Linked DNA regions of Homo sapiens: region 1 is linked to region 2. The links are contacts of gene promoters, found by promoter capture Hi-C in human tissues and cell types (Jung and others, 2019). All regions are on one chromosome and are shown on one strand. Each heading gives the region's core, a stretch centred on a gene start or on the middle of the fragment in contact. The rest is flanking DNA. Distances are from core to core; before and after follow the strand shown. Region 1 holds the start of LOC105375648 (a long non-coding RNA gene). Region 2 holds the start of TMEM67 (transmembrane protein 67).

The links. The method cuts DNA at HindIII sites, captures the fragments that hold promoters and counts their contacts. A contact is called where the count stands out against the background at its distance.
Region 1: a contact is called between a fragment that was not itself captured here and the fragment with the promoter of TMEM67 in region 2, in 1 of the 25 tissues and cell types used here (bladder).

The regions. Positions count from the first base shown.
Region 1 is chr8:94,227,089-94,233,822 of GRCh38, reverse strand. LOC105375648 (a long non-coding RNA gene) reads left to right here and starts at 5,734. Exons shown (of 3, transcript XR_928424.4): 1 at 5,734-5,784. The HindIII fragment of the contact is 4,638 bases long and covers 8-4,645 here.
Region 2 is chr8:93,751,152-93,758,273 of GRCh38, reverse strand. It overlaps TMEM67 (transmembrane protein 67), which reads right to left and starts at 3,380. Exons shown (of 28, transcript NM_153704.6): 1 at 3,137-3,380; 2 at 2,408-2,496. The coding sequence starts at 3,359. The HindIII fragment of the contact is 11,912 bases long and covers 1-7,122 here.

The DNA.
Region 1 (6,734 bases), core at 1,077-3,576, 480 kb before region 2:
TCAGGTGATCCACCCGCCTCAGCCTCCCAAAGTGTTGGGATTACAGGCGTGAGCCACCTCGCCCGGCCACAGTTTTTTTAGGGGGGAAATTCCCAGGATACCCACATGACTTTGACTCTGTGTCCGCAGAGAGGGGTGGAAGCAGGAGCTGTGGGGCGGGCTCTTCTCGGTTCAGATGCTCCCTGTGACCCCGAGTGTGTCGTGGTTTTCCCTACTGTACCACGTGAGGGGCAGCAAACACTTGTGTGTGTGTGTATGTGTGTATGAGTGTGTGTGTATGTTTGTATGAGTGTGTGTGTATGAGTGTTTGTATGTATGTGTGTGTGCGAGTGTGTGGTGTGTGTGGAAGTGTGTGGTGAGTGTATGTGTGTGGTGTGTGTATGTTAGGGTGTGTGTGTGTACGTGTGTGTGAGCGTGTGTGTGTGTGTGGCTTCTCTGCGCTTTGGAGCAGAGCACAAACTCTGGGGAGGAGGAATTGGGTAACTGCAGTAAGTCATGGGACCCCAGGCTGCTTCTCAGCTCCTGATGGAGGACCAGTGCCGCCAGGTGGGGGAGGACGTTGTGAGCACAGGAGCTGACACACTGGCTTCTGCTGAAAACAGTGGAGGGGAAATTAAGGAAGCCAATAGGAGTGCTCATTGGAGTGAAAAGTCTCAGGCGGCTGATTGGGATGGGAGAATCTGGATCTGAGGATTTGGGATCACTTTATTCACGCTTCAAATAAGAATTTGGAAGTCTCCACATTCATGTACAACATTTATTTTTCTTTGTTGACAATTTCTTCCTTTATTTTTCCTGTTATTCCCTCCCCCGCCCCTCCGCGCTATTCACTAGTGCAGTGAGGGCCTGGGAGTTTGGAGTTCCGGGAAAAAACATTCAGAACTCTGACCAGCTAATTAGATCTACTCAGAGAGCTTGAGTCAGGCACACCTGGTTCCACCACTTCCCGGGTGAGTTATCCTGGGGAGGTTACTTAACCTCTCCAATCCTTGGATTTCTCACTTATAAAATGAGGGTGATAAATCTCTCCCTGTCATGGTGGGTATGAGGATTGGATGCAAGGGTCTGCTGCAGGTGTGTTTCTAGCCCTCCAGCCTGACAGTGTCACCCTTTTCTTTAATATCCCAACAGACTCACCCAAGGCCCATTCCACATGCTCTGGCTTGTCCAATCTCCCCTCCCTCACTGCTCTGGGAATTCTGTGGGGGATTTGCTTTCCTTCCTGATAACCTCCCACCCTGGTTTCCTGCCTCTTTGGAGCTGTGAAGCCCCCTCTGCATCTTTCCTGCCACGACTTCCCTTCTGTATTCCCTCTTCTTCCCCTTCCACTATGTACTAGGAAAGGCATCATTCACCAGGGTTGTGTGTTTATGGAAGATTTGGGCCTATTTGGGGTGGTTTAAGGGGGTTTACAGCCCAGATCAGATAACAACTTAAAACTGAGTGCTAGACATTACCCTCTTATGTCTCTCCACCTTCTCACTGGCCATTTAGCTAATTCGACATAACCATCCTCAAATCATCCCCAAACTCAGTTATCACAATCCTGTGTATTAGCAATTTAGGATCAGCTGGGTGGCTCTTCCAGCTTCTGCTGGATTTTCATATGGGTCTTCAATGAACTGTGGGTCCATTTGCTAATCTTGCTGGGACCCTCTCACATGTCTGGAGGCTTGGCTGGGACACTTGGGCTCTGGTTCATGTGGTCTGTCAACTTGAAGCGGATGAGCCTTAGGCTTGTTTGTGGACATGGTGAGTGAGTGTGATGCAAGATTTCTGAGACCTGGGCTTGAACTGGGACTCCACTGCATTCTGCTGGTCAAAGCAAGTCACAGGGTCAGCCCATATTCAAGGAAAGGGGAAATAGACACCATGTTTGAATGGGAGAAGCTCCAAAGCCGTATTGCAAAGGACATGGCCACAGAAGTAGTGAAGTATTGTATCCACTTTTTGCAACCTTCCATGCCGTCTTCCCCGTCAGGGTCTCACCTATTGTCCTGTTGCTGGATCTTCAGTGTCTCCACCTGGACTAGAGCTCTTTCCCAATATTATCTTCTGCCTATTCTATGGGCCCCGACTCTTCTTTCTTTTTGAAGAAGTCTCCAAATTATTGTATAATATTTATTTTCCTTTGTTGACAATTTTTTTTCTTTCCAATCATGTTCACAACTGAAAAATATCCTAAGTGTGTTTGAACGAAGTAAACCAGTGGTTCTCAACACGCTGGGCACAAGAGTGATCTGCAAAGTTTAAAAAATTTACTGATATCTGGGTTCCACACCCAGGTCTGGGGTAGGTTTTAGATATTGCTATTGCTTAGAAGGTCCCCAGGTTGTTCTAAAGTGTAGCTAGGGTTGAAAACTACTGGAATACATTAAAACACCATGTACCTCTGAGATGAATTTCTCACCTAAAATATGGACATCTACAAGCTGTTTTTATTTTTTGTTTTTCTTTACACGAACAGTTTCCTTTTTCCTATTCCATTGATAAAGCATCCAGTGCATTTCAGGTGCTCACTACATATAAGCTATCATCATTGTTACTCCTGCTATCATAGGCAGTATAATGTTGTGGTGAAGAAGGATTCTGAAGATGGGTCACCTCCCCTCTCTCTGCCTCAGTTCCCTCATCTGAAAATGAGGATAATTAAAATTCCTTCTTCATAAATAGCTACCTACATCATAGGATTGTTGTGAGGGTGAAATGTCTACATGGTTATACTGAGATGCACAGTAAGTGTTCCGTAAGCAGTGGATAGCGTGTCATTCCTGTTTTATTCATTCAGCATCCCATGGTTTACTAAGCTTATCCTCAGTTTGCTTTACTCTTTGGTCCAGTTTCCAAGCAAATGTGATGACAATGGGTAGAGAGGTGGTGCTGCCTTTATTCTGGGCTGGGGCATGCTAGTGTTGGAAGAATGCAAAAGAGACACTTCCACTGCTTGGGGGAACCCTTAGCTCTGCCAACTGTAGATTATTAAGAACATTAAGAAAATTCTGTGGCAAACTTGTGTCTCCCCTTTCTTTTCCAAGTTGAGTTTTCTTCAGCCCAACATTCGTTTTGTGTGCCTCACACTTGTGCAAGTGCTTGAGTAGTGTGTGACGGGCATACTTAGCTCAGTGCAGATGTCTTGGAAATAGTAGATGTGGGCAAAGATGTGAAAATCTGCTAACAGGAGCCTAGGCCAGGTCTGAGTGCCAGCCCGTGGGGGAAGCCAGCAGCACACTGGGTAGGGGCAGGGGGACAGAGGACATCTTGGAATTACAGGGAGTCTGAGTCAGCAGGACCCTTTGACATTTAAATACACATACAAGGAAACCGAATCTAGAAGAGTTAAGCACATTCGAAGTCAGGCAGCTGGTGATTGGTAGAGCTCTGACTAGGGAAATCGTGGAAATTGCAGCTGTTATTCTTTGCATCCTGTGTCAGGAGTTGTGTTAGGTCTTTTTTGTTTGTGATAAGGTCTCACTCTGGCACCCACGCTGGAGTGCAATGGTGTGATCATGGCTCACTGCAGCCTCAGCCTCCTGGGCTCAGGTGATCCTCCCACCTCAGCCTCCCAAGTAGCCAGGACTGCAGGTGCATGCCACCACGCCTGTCTTACATTTTTTTGTATTTTTTATAGAGATGGAGTTTGACCATGTTGCCCAGGCTGGTCTTGAACTCCTGGACTCAAGTGATCTACCTGACTTGGCCTCCCAGTGTGCTGGTATTACAGGCATGAGCCACCTTGCCTGGCCGTCTTTAGTATTTTAGTAACATCTTACTAAACTCAAGAAGTAGATATTACTGGCTCCATTTTGTAGTTGAGAAAACTGAGGCTTAAAGATGTTATGACAGGCCGGGCGCAGTGGCTCATGCCTGTAATCCGAGCACTTTGGGAGGCTGAGGCAGGTGGTTCACCTGAGGTCAGGAGTTCGAGACCAGCCTGGCCAACATGGTGAAATCCTGTCTCTACTAAAAATACAAAAATTGTTCTGGCGTGGTGGCAGGTGCCTGTAATCCCAGCTACTCGGGAGGCTGAGGCAGGAGAATCTCCTGAACCCAGGAGGCGGAGGTTTCAGTGAGCTGAGATTGTGCCGTTGCACTCCAGCCTGGGGGACAAGAGTGAGACTTCATCTCAAAAAAAAAAAAAGTTATGATGTCACAGCAACCATGTGAAGAGTCAGGTCACAGTATTGCCTATAACACTGTGAGGACTGTTTAAGGCATTGGAATGACATCTTTTAAAACCCTATACAATTTCTTTTCATCTTGAAACAGATTGCTCACCTACCTACAGACCCTGAATGAGATTACCTCCATGGTATGACTTCAGGAAGACCCCATGTTAAAAAAAAATCTCTCCCCAAAAGTGAAAACCAGAAAACCCAAATCTCACTTCAGTTTCCTTTCATCTCATTCACTGAGATGTGAAAATGAATTAGTACTTAATTTAAGGTCTTAATTTCTGATAAAATAGTAACAGTCTTGAAAGAAACTAAACCTTAATGTGACCTAAAAGAAGCAACACGGTGTCAGGGAAGGAGTACCCACATCCCTTGTGAGTATGTGATCTCATATTTTCAGTAGCCTCCTCGGCCCAGTAAAAGCCATGTATGTGGAAAATTATAGAGAAATGGCACAGATAAGATCTTATTTAGTGGGAAAATATTTAAATTATAAAAATATTTGGAAAACATTCATTTTTTTTTAAATAAATGGGGTCTTTCTCTGTTGCCCAGGCTGGAGTACAGTGGCACAATCCTAGCTTACTGCAGCCTCAAACTCCTGGGCTCCAGCAATCTTCCCACCTCAGCCTCCCAAGTAGCTGGGACTACAGGCGTGCACCACCGTGCCCAGCTTTTAAAAAAAATTTTTAGTAGAGATGGGGTCTTGCTTTGTTGCCCAGGCTGGACTACAGGTGCACACCACTGTGCCCAGCTATTTTTTTTTTTTTAAATTTTTAGTAGAGACGGGTCTCGCCTTGTTGCCCAGGCTGGACTTGAACTCCTTGCTTCAAGCAATTCTCCTACCTCAGCCTCCCAAAGCGCTGCGATTACAGGCGTGAGCCACTATGCCTGGCCAGAAGACATACAATTTTATTATAGTCTTTATTATAAACCAATGGATGTGATACTATTACGCAAAATAAGATGGAGGAATTAAAAAAATGATAAATCTCAACAGACAGCAGGCCTGACAATGCCTCATAAGCACAAAAACATTATACAATCAGAATGCCATATAATAGAGTGGTTACGTTTTTAGACTTGGGAATCAGACTTCCTGGCTTCAAATCCTGGTGGTACCAATTCACTAGCTGAGTTACTTTGTGGAAGTTTACTTATGCTCCTTAGGTCAGAGTTTCCTCACTAGAAAATAGTAATAATAGTAAGTACATCATGGCTAATGCTTTCAGATCGGAATGAGTTAATGTTATCTTTTTCCTGGTGCAGGACCCTCTGTACAGGAATCTTGTCATGGTTATCACCTTATTGCTAGCAATGTGGTTTTTGAATTAAAGCAACCATTTTCCTAGTTTCTGATCATTATCTTTGTACTAAACAGCCTGGGATTACCCCTCTGCAACTATAATTTAGGACATGCACATAGCTGCCTTGACTTAGATGGACTGATCTTGCACTGGTTTTCAGCTTGGCTCTGACATTCAGAACTTTGGCAAATGTGCACTGGTCAAGTGTTTGCAGCGAGAGGCACTGCAGAGGGGAAGGCAGGCCCTCCTGTGTCGCTTTCACTAGGAGGTGGCCGTGGCAGAACTAGCTTCCTCTGAAGTACCAGGTGGGTGACATGCCATGGACTGGGGTGTGATTCTCACTCATGTCTGCATCTAGAATGCCTGTGGTTCTACCACACACTCGGCCTCGCCCCCATTTCCCAGGCCTCTGGTCCTACTGAAGGTCAGATAATGAACTAAGGCAGGAATAGGATTCTTTTTGCCATTTGATATACAAAGTTGTGGGGTGGGTCGAAAGAGGGCACAGGAGGAAGAAAGAAGGTAGACCACGTTCCCAGAACTAATCCCAACCCAAACTTTAAAAGCACACAGCTCAAGTGCTTCTATAACAACCACCTTTTCCATTTTTCCACCCTCTGAACATCCAGCCATGAACAAGGGCAGTTCTTTTTTATCCTTTTTTTTTTTGAGATGTAGTCTTGCTCTGTCACCCAGGCTGGAGTGCAGTGGTGCAATCTCAGCTCACTGCAACCTCCGCCTCCCGGGTTCAAGCAATTCTCCTGCCTCAGCCTCCTGAGTAGCTGGAATTACGGTCACGCGCCACCACGCACGGCTAGAACAAGGGCAGTGCTAAGCATGATCCACGGACATGGTTTCCCAAGGGGAGCCCTGGAGTGGGTCGCTTAGGGTACTGTGCGGGGCCAGCTAGAGAGACAAAAGAGCAGCCCTGTCATCAGTTGCCTGCATCTCAGTAGTTCTTTGGAATAGCTCTGCCACCAACTACAAGCAACCGTTAGCCTAAGCTTGGCAGTTGGCCGACATCAGAGGCCTGGCAGATGGCCCATGTGGGAGCCCTTCCAGGACCTCAGTCGGAATCTCCAACAGATGACATTTGCCTAGAGAGTGTGGTAGGTTGGGCAATTCTTGCTCCCATAAGCATCTACAAATCTCTTTAGCAGGAGAGGTTCTGGTTTGCAGGCCATGGGCTTGGATGCATATCTGTCTGTGAGTGCTCCTTCCCACACATCCCCTAACCAGAGATGGAATCCTGGAA
Region 2 (7,122 bases), core at 2,131-4,630:
TTAAAGGATTAACTCCGGATAATAGTTCTCTCTTCTTCAGGATCTTTAATTCAAATGGATGCCTCTTTCATAATTATTTGTCATTTCGTTTTTCCATTTACAAATATAAAACACAACACAACACAAAAAGATTGAATCAACGGTCAGTTAATAGGTTAATCTTACCTGTTCTAAAACTCTATTCTAATTTTTAAAAATTCAAATACCTAAAAAATTTAGTCCAGGCACAGTGGCTCACGTCTGTAATTCCAGCACTTTGGGAGGCCAAGGTGGGTGGATCACTTGAGGCCAAAGCTTGAGGCCAGCCTGGCCAATGTGGTGAAACCTCGTCTCTACTAAAAATACAAAAATTAGCTGGGCGTGGTGGTGTATGCCTATAATCCTACTTGGGAGGCTGAGGCACCAGAATGGCTTGAACCAGAAAGGTGGAGGTTGCAGTGAGCTGAGATCGTGCCACTGCACTCCAGCCTGAGCAACAGTAATACTCTCTTTCAAAAAAAAAAAAAATTCATTTATGATTCAAAATGGGTAAATTTTATGAAATATATAAATTATACACATAGTTGTTAAAATTGATTTATGAGAATATTTTCTTCTATCCATTTATGGCTTGTACTAGTAAAGGTTTTTTTTTTTTTGAGACAGAGTCTTTGCTCTGTTGCCAGGCTGGAGTGCAGTGGCACAATCTCGGCTCACTGCAAGCTCTGCCTCCCAGGTTCAAACAATTCTCCTGCCTCAGCCTCCCGAGTAGCTGGGACTACAGGCACGTGCCACCACGTCCAGCTAATTTTTGTATTTTTAGTAGAGATGGGGTTTCACCACATTTGCCAGGATGGTCTTGATCTCTTGACCTCGTGATCCACCTGCCTCAGCCTCCCAAAGTGCTGGGATTACAGGCGTGAGCCACCGCGCCCGGCCTAGTAAAGGTTTTTGATAAAGTATGACAGCATTCAAAATTGGGCTTATTATATCATATGGTTTAGGAAAAGCCTGGGGCAAAAAACACAATAATTACAAACACAGATGTAACCAAAGTTTATAAAGAACAAAAATAATGCCACAAATTATTTTAAATTTTGGTTGAAAAGACTGAATTTATCAAGAAATACTCCTATATTTGGCAATACATTTATACAGGACAATTTATTTATTTATTTATTTATTTATTTATTTATTTATTTATATTTTATTTATTTTTTTGAGACAGAGTCTCGCTCTGTCACCCAGGCTGGAGTGCAATGGTGCAATCTTGGCTTACTGCAACCTCTGCCTCCTGAGTTCAAGCGATTCTCTTGCCTCAGCCTCCCAAGCAGCTGGGACTACAGGCACGCGCCACCACAGCCAGCTCATTTTTGTATTTTTAGTAGAGATGGGGTTTCACCATATTGGCCAGGCTGGTCTCAAACTCCTGAGCTCATGATCCACCAGGCTCAGCCTCCCAAACTGCTGGGATTACAGGCATGAGCCACTGTGCCTGGCCTATACAGGACAATTTAAAAATTACAATAACTTAAACAATGTCACTGAAAAAGAAATCTGCTGCGAGACCACTTTTTATTAGCAGCTTTTTATCATGGGTAATTCAGCTAGGATCAATATTTGCAAAGATATAAAATAAATGGTAATCTATTATAATCTATTATAAAGATATAAAATAAATGGTAATATAAAAAGTGGTAATCAGACTTACAAGTAATACAGATAGCTATAAATTGGGACAATTGATAACTTCACATTAAATTCCCAGAATTAATATTTTTTATATGACAATGAGAAGAAACATTACTGTAAATGTCACAACTGTTACACAGACTTTTAATTATCCAACATGATTGAAAAATATATTTATGTTGAGAATTATATATAGTAACTATTTACTAATTTTTTTTAAATTACGATACAATGAAATTACTAACAAAACAGAAACAGACATTATTTAATCTATTAATGCAATTGGTATTTCATGAAATAATTACACCTTAGATATCATTATGAACATCAATAATCATATAAACTGTTGACATGGTAGGTCTAAGACAACTCCACTTGCATCAGTCAAAAGAATATACACATCCCAAATTGCACACATCCCAGACTGCTCTATATATGCCTTATTCATCTAATTTTCTTCATAACCGAGTTATTCTACGAGTAAAAACAAAAACTTAAATTTTTACAGCTTTGTGGTTTTTGGATTTCAGATTTTAAAAGAAATACATTTCTGTTTTCTCCAAGTTTGCATGAAATTTCGCTGATCTCCCAAAACTTACTCTAGTAAAAATAAAATTAGCATAGTAATTTTAAAGTCTGTGGGGAAACATTAAACATTAAATTATATTTTGAAAAATAAAGATATTTAACTTACTACTTTTTACAGGTAAGTTATTTTAAAATAAATTATGCGCACCATGTTTTCTGGGCACTTTTTACAAATAATAGCAGGTCCTCCATTATTAGAGATCATCTGAAATCCTGGTAGACATACACATGAAGTTCCTAAAAAAAAAAAAAAAAAAAAAAAAGCCAATTTTATCCTTGATAAATAAAAATAAAGTTCCCAGATAGTGAAACTTTTAATAAGTCTGAAGATCTTGAGAAGCAGTATAGTGATTAACAGCAGGATTCTGGAGGCAGTACTGCCTGGGTTCAAATCCAGAAATACACTTCTTGAGTTCCAATCGTAGTAATCCTACTCAGTTGCATGACCTTGAACAAGTTACTAAACTCTCTGCCTTGGCTTCCTCTACAATAAAATGGAGAAAAAAAATTGGTACCTACCTCACAGGGTTAGTATGAGTACAAAATTAGTTATTATACGTAGAGGTCTTACACTGGCACACAGCTGGTATTATGCTGCTACCATTTTAAGTGCAAGTATAACTAAACTATTAAACTACTTAACTGCTGCTGGAAATTTTACATTTCTACGTCACTAAACAATATACATGTATTCGGGCCAGGCGCGGTGGCTCACGCCTGTAATCCCAGCACTTTGGGAGGCGGAGGCGGGTGGATCACCTGAGGTCAGAAGTTCGAGACTAGCCTGATCAACATGGTGAAACTCCATTTACGGGGACTAGGGGCCGACCAAGGCGGGAGTGTTACTTTTGCCAGGGCCCACCGCAAACCGTCTTACCTCGGGCATCTTGCCTCTGGTTAGCTCCACAAGGAACACACGAGAGGGCGGAGATATCAAAGTACTGGTTGTTGTCGCACTTCTCCGGCTGCTGGAAAGGGAAAGAGAAGGTCTGGGCCTGTAAGAAGCGAGGGAGGAACAACAGAAGGAACGCGGTCACGGCCCGGGCGGATAAGAGGGACCAAACCGCCATTGCCACCCCAGCCCCACCGCGCGTCGCCATGGTACCGACGCTGGAAGCCTCACAGCCTCCAGCCCCCCATCAGCCTCTGCGGCGGCTTCGCTGAGCTGATTGGACAACCCAAGTCCGGGTACCGGAAGTCACTGCTCGTGTTGCTTGGTTGCTAGGTTACCAACCCTGCGCGAAGTTGGCAGGTCCAGTAAAGAATGGGTTAGAGACCGGTTAACCCTGGAGCCCAGCGATATTTTCAAACGTGTATAGAGTTCCTCTACTTACGATAGGGCTGCCCCCTCCCCGCAATAAACCCATCGTAAGTTGAAAATATCATAATTTGTCGAGTTATAGTTACATCAGAATTTATTCAGACTAGGTAATTTTCACGTTAAAGGAAACATGACTTGTAGTTTAACAATTTGATGTCAAAAAACCCCACTGACTTAAAACCCAGTGAAGGATTACTATAGCTCAAAGACTGAAAAAATAAAAAAACTTTCCTGCCAGGTTTGAGCATAGGAAATCATGTATGCGAGACAAAGTACGAAACGGAAGAAACCATGTTTGCTCATTCTGTTGCCAGCGAAATTTCACAAAGCCCCTGACTCAGTGACTGAACGCAGTCCTCCAGAAGAATGCCCTGAAGACAATAAGTAGGATAGAGCACAAGTTTTCACATCTGTTGCTTGAATCACTTCATTTTTTAAAAAGATACAGTCAGCGATCCTAGCTCTTGCCTCTTCCTGTACGTAAGATAACGTGTGACAGGATTAATGATTATGCCTCTGTAATCTATAACCAGATGTAGTCTCCAAACAAAACTTTGATGAGATTTTGCTCCAACGTAACTTCTGAGCACGTTTAATGTAACTTTTGAGCACATGCAGAACTCCATCCCTTGATGTAGAAACTGGGGGCAGAACAGCTGCTTTGGACCAGTATAACATAAACTCTTTGAAAGACTCTCCAGGGTTGCATTCCTCAGTAAGACTCCGAATAAAACTAACTTTGAGTCTTTAAAAGCCTGATTTTTTTCTTTAGTTGACATGTATATAAAATGAGATCACCTTTACACCTTTTGTGAATAAAGGAATCTAAGCCTGGTGCTGTGGCTCACACCTCTAATCCTAACATTTTGGGAGGCCACAGTGGAAGGATTGTCTGAGCCCAGGAATTCAAGACCAGCCTGGGCAACATAGTGAGACTCCACCTCTACAAATAAAATTTATTTTAATTAGCTGGGTGGGTGGCACATGCCTATGGTCCCGGTTGCTTGGAAGGCTGAGGCGGGAGAACCACTTAAGCCCAGGAGGTCAATGAGCCCAAAGGCTGCAATAAGCTATGATCGTGCCACTGCACTCCAGCCTGGATGTCAGAGACCCTATATAAAAAAAAAAAAAAATCCTGGACAAAAATATGGAAACGTTTAGAGTTAGAGACCACTTGCGAGGCTAAGGTAGAAATCTAGAGTCTAAATTGGAGCCATGGAGGAAGGGAGAGGCAGAAGAGGATGAATAAAGGAGCTATTCAGGAAGAAGAATTATAAGAATTTTATTATTTGGACATAGGAAGTAAACAAACAGAATCAAGGATAACTTCCAGGTTTCTGATTTGGGTGGCTGGGTAGACGGTTGTGATATTAAAGGAAGATACCTGTGGTAGATAGCTTCTAAGCGAAAACTTATTGGATAAAGAAAATTTTAAGGTAGAAATGAAAGTTATAGGAATATTTAACATGGTGGGAGCTAGAGGTATGGATAATAATAGAAATAATAGGTATTAATAGCTTGTTTTTGTTATCAAGCAAATGAGCTCTCTATCCAATGCATGCACAGAAGCCAATACTATGTGGCACAAGCTTTTGAGGAAAAAAAGTCTTTATTTGCACAACTGGTCAGCAAGGAGATAGGAGTGCATTCAAATCTGTTTCCCTGATTTAGAGTCTGGGGTAAACTTATGGGCTTGGAAAGCCAAGGGAAGAATTTAGGAATGTGTCTTGGCAGGCAGAATGGAGGACTTGAAATTTGACCATTTAGAAAAAGGTACGTAGAGGCCGATTTTAGGCCTGATCCTCCAGGCAAATGGACCCAACACTTTTGAAAGAGTTCCAAGTTCAGGTTCCAGTCATGTCCCGGTCTTGGTTCCAAGGAAAGGATTCACTGGTTTTGGGTGTTGTTAGAGGTCCAGGCTTTTTCTATTGCACATGACTGGGCTACATGACTTTCAGTTTTTGGCTCTGTTACATCTAAAAGGTAACACGACATTTTGTTATCAACAGAGTAGGCTCAGTTTGGGCTAGTCCCATGGAGACACTTTTAATGTGTCCGGCATTGCAATATCTCATTTGATCCTAAATTGGGACTGTTATCATCACCTTTAATTTACAGATGAAATAACCAAGGCTTAGAAAGTATAAGTGACTTTCTAAGGTCACACTTAATTCATGGTTCTAACCCTGGTAATTTGACACCAGAGCCCATACTTTTCTTCGGGTTTTTGTTGTTGTTGTTGTTGTTTTAAACTTTAATTTAGGTTCAGAGGTACATGTGCAGGTTTGTTATATAGGTAAATTGAGTGTCTCGGGGGTTTGGGGATCAGATTATTTCCTTACCCATGTGATAAGCATAGAACCCAATAGGTAGTTTTTTGATCCATACTCTCCTTTCACCCTCCACCCTCAAGTAGTACCCAGTATCTATTGTTCCCTTCTTTGTGTCCACCTGTACACAATGTTAGCTCCAACTAATAAGTGAGAACACACAGTATTTTATTTCTTTCCTGTGTTAGTTTGAGATAGGAGGTTGGCAGGACTGATTTCACAGGATAAGATCATAAAGACCTGGCTGATAAAACAGGATAGGTAAAGAAGAGGACTGAAACCTGCTAAAACCAAGATGGTGACCAAAGTGACCTCTGGCCATCCTCACTGCTCATTATATGCTAATTACAATGGATTAACATGCTAAAAGACACTCCCACCAGCACCTTGACAGTTTGCCCCTTGCCATGCCCACTTAGAGAAGTTACCCTACATGGTCTAACAAGGGAGGACGCTCCGTTCCAGGAATTCCCCACCTTTTTCCTGGAAAACTCATGAATAATCCACCCCTTGTTTAGTATATGATCAAGGAATAACCATAAATATACTCAGTCTAGCAGTCCTTGCCATTGCTCTGCCTATGAAGTAGCCACTCTTTATTCCTTTACTTTCTTAACAAACTTGCTTTCACTTTATTCTGTCAGATTGCTCTTGAATTCCTTCCTGCATGAAGCTGAGAACCCACATGGCCACTCAGGCTGAACCCTGATTTTGAGGTTTTCTCTGTGACAAGTTTGCTTTGGATAATGCAGAGCCCACACTCTTAAGCCCTGCTTTTTATTGTTGCCTTTGAATCTCTGGATGTGCTTTTCTGGGCAGGAATAAAGAAAAGCTAAAGGCAAGTAAGTTCAAGATGAGATTAATGAATTAAAATATTACAAAGAAGGTGAAAAACAGAAGTGGAGGTTGTGGTGAGAAAGGGGAATTAGTGAGGTTCAGATCTTACATCTGGGGCACTTTGTGTGGTGAACCCTGTGTTCATTCCCAATCTCCAGACACTTAGTGCCCTTTTGATTTGTTAATCTTTTGTGTGTAACTTGTTTTTTACTTTCTTGAAGTCTTCAGGATGTTCCTCTCTGTGCCCCACCTTCTCATTTTTCTTAATTTTACAGTGATGTGTCTGGGCATGTTTCATTGTCATCTTTTGTGTGGAACACCTGTTGTAACTTTGCAATTCAGCAAAGAAACTCATGTCCTTTAACACTGGGAAAT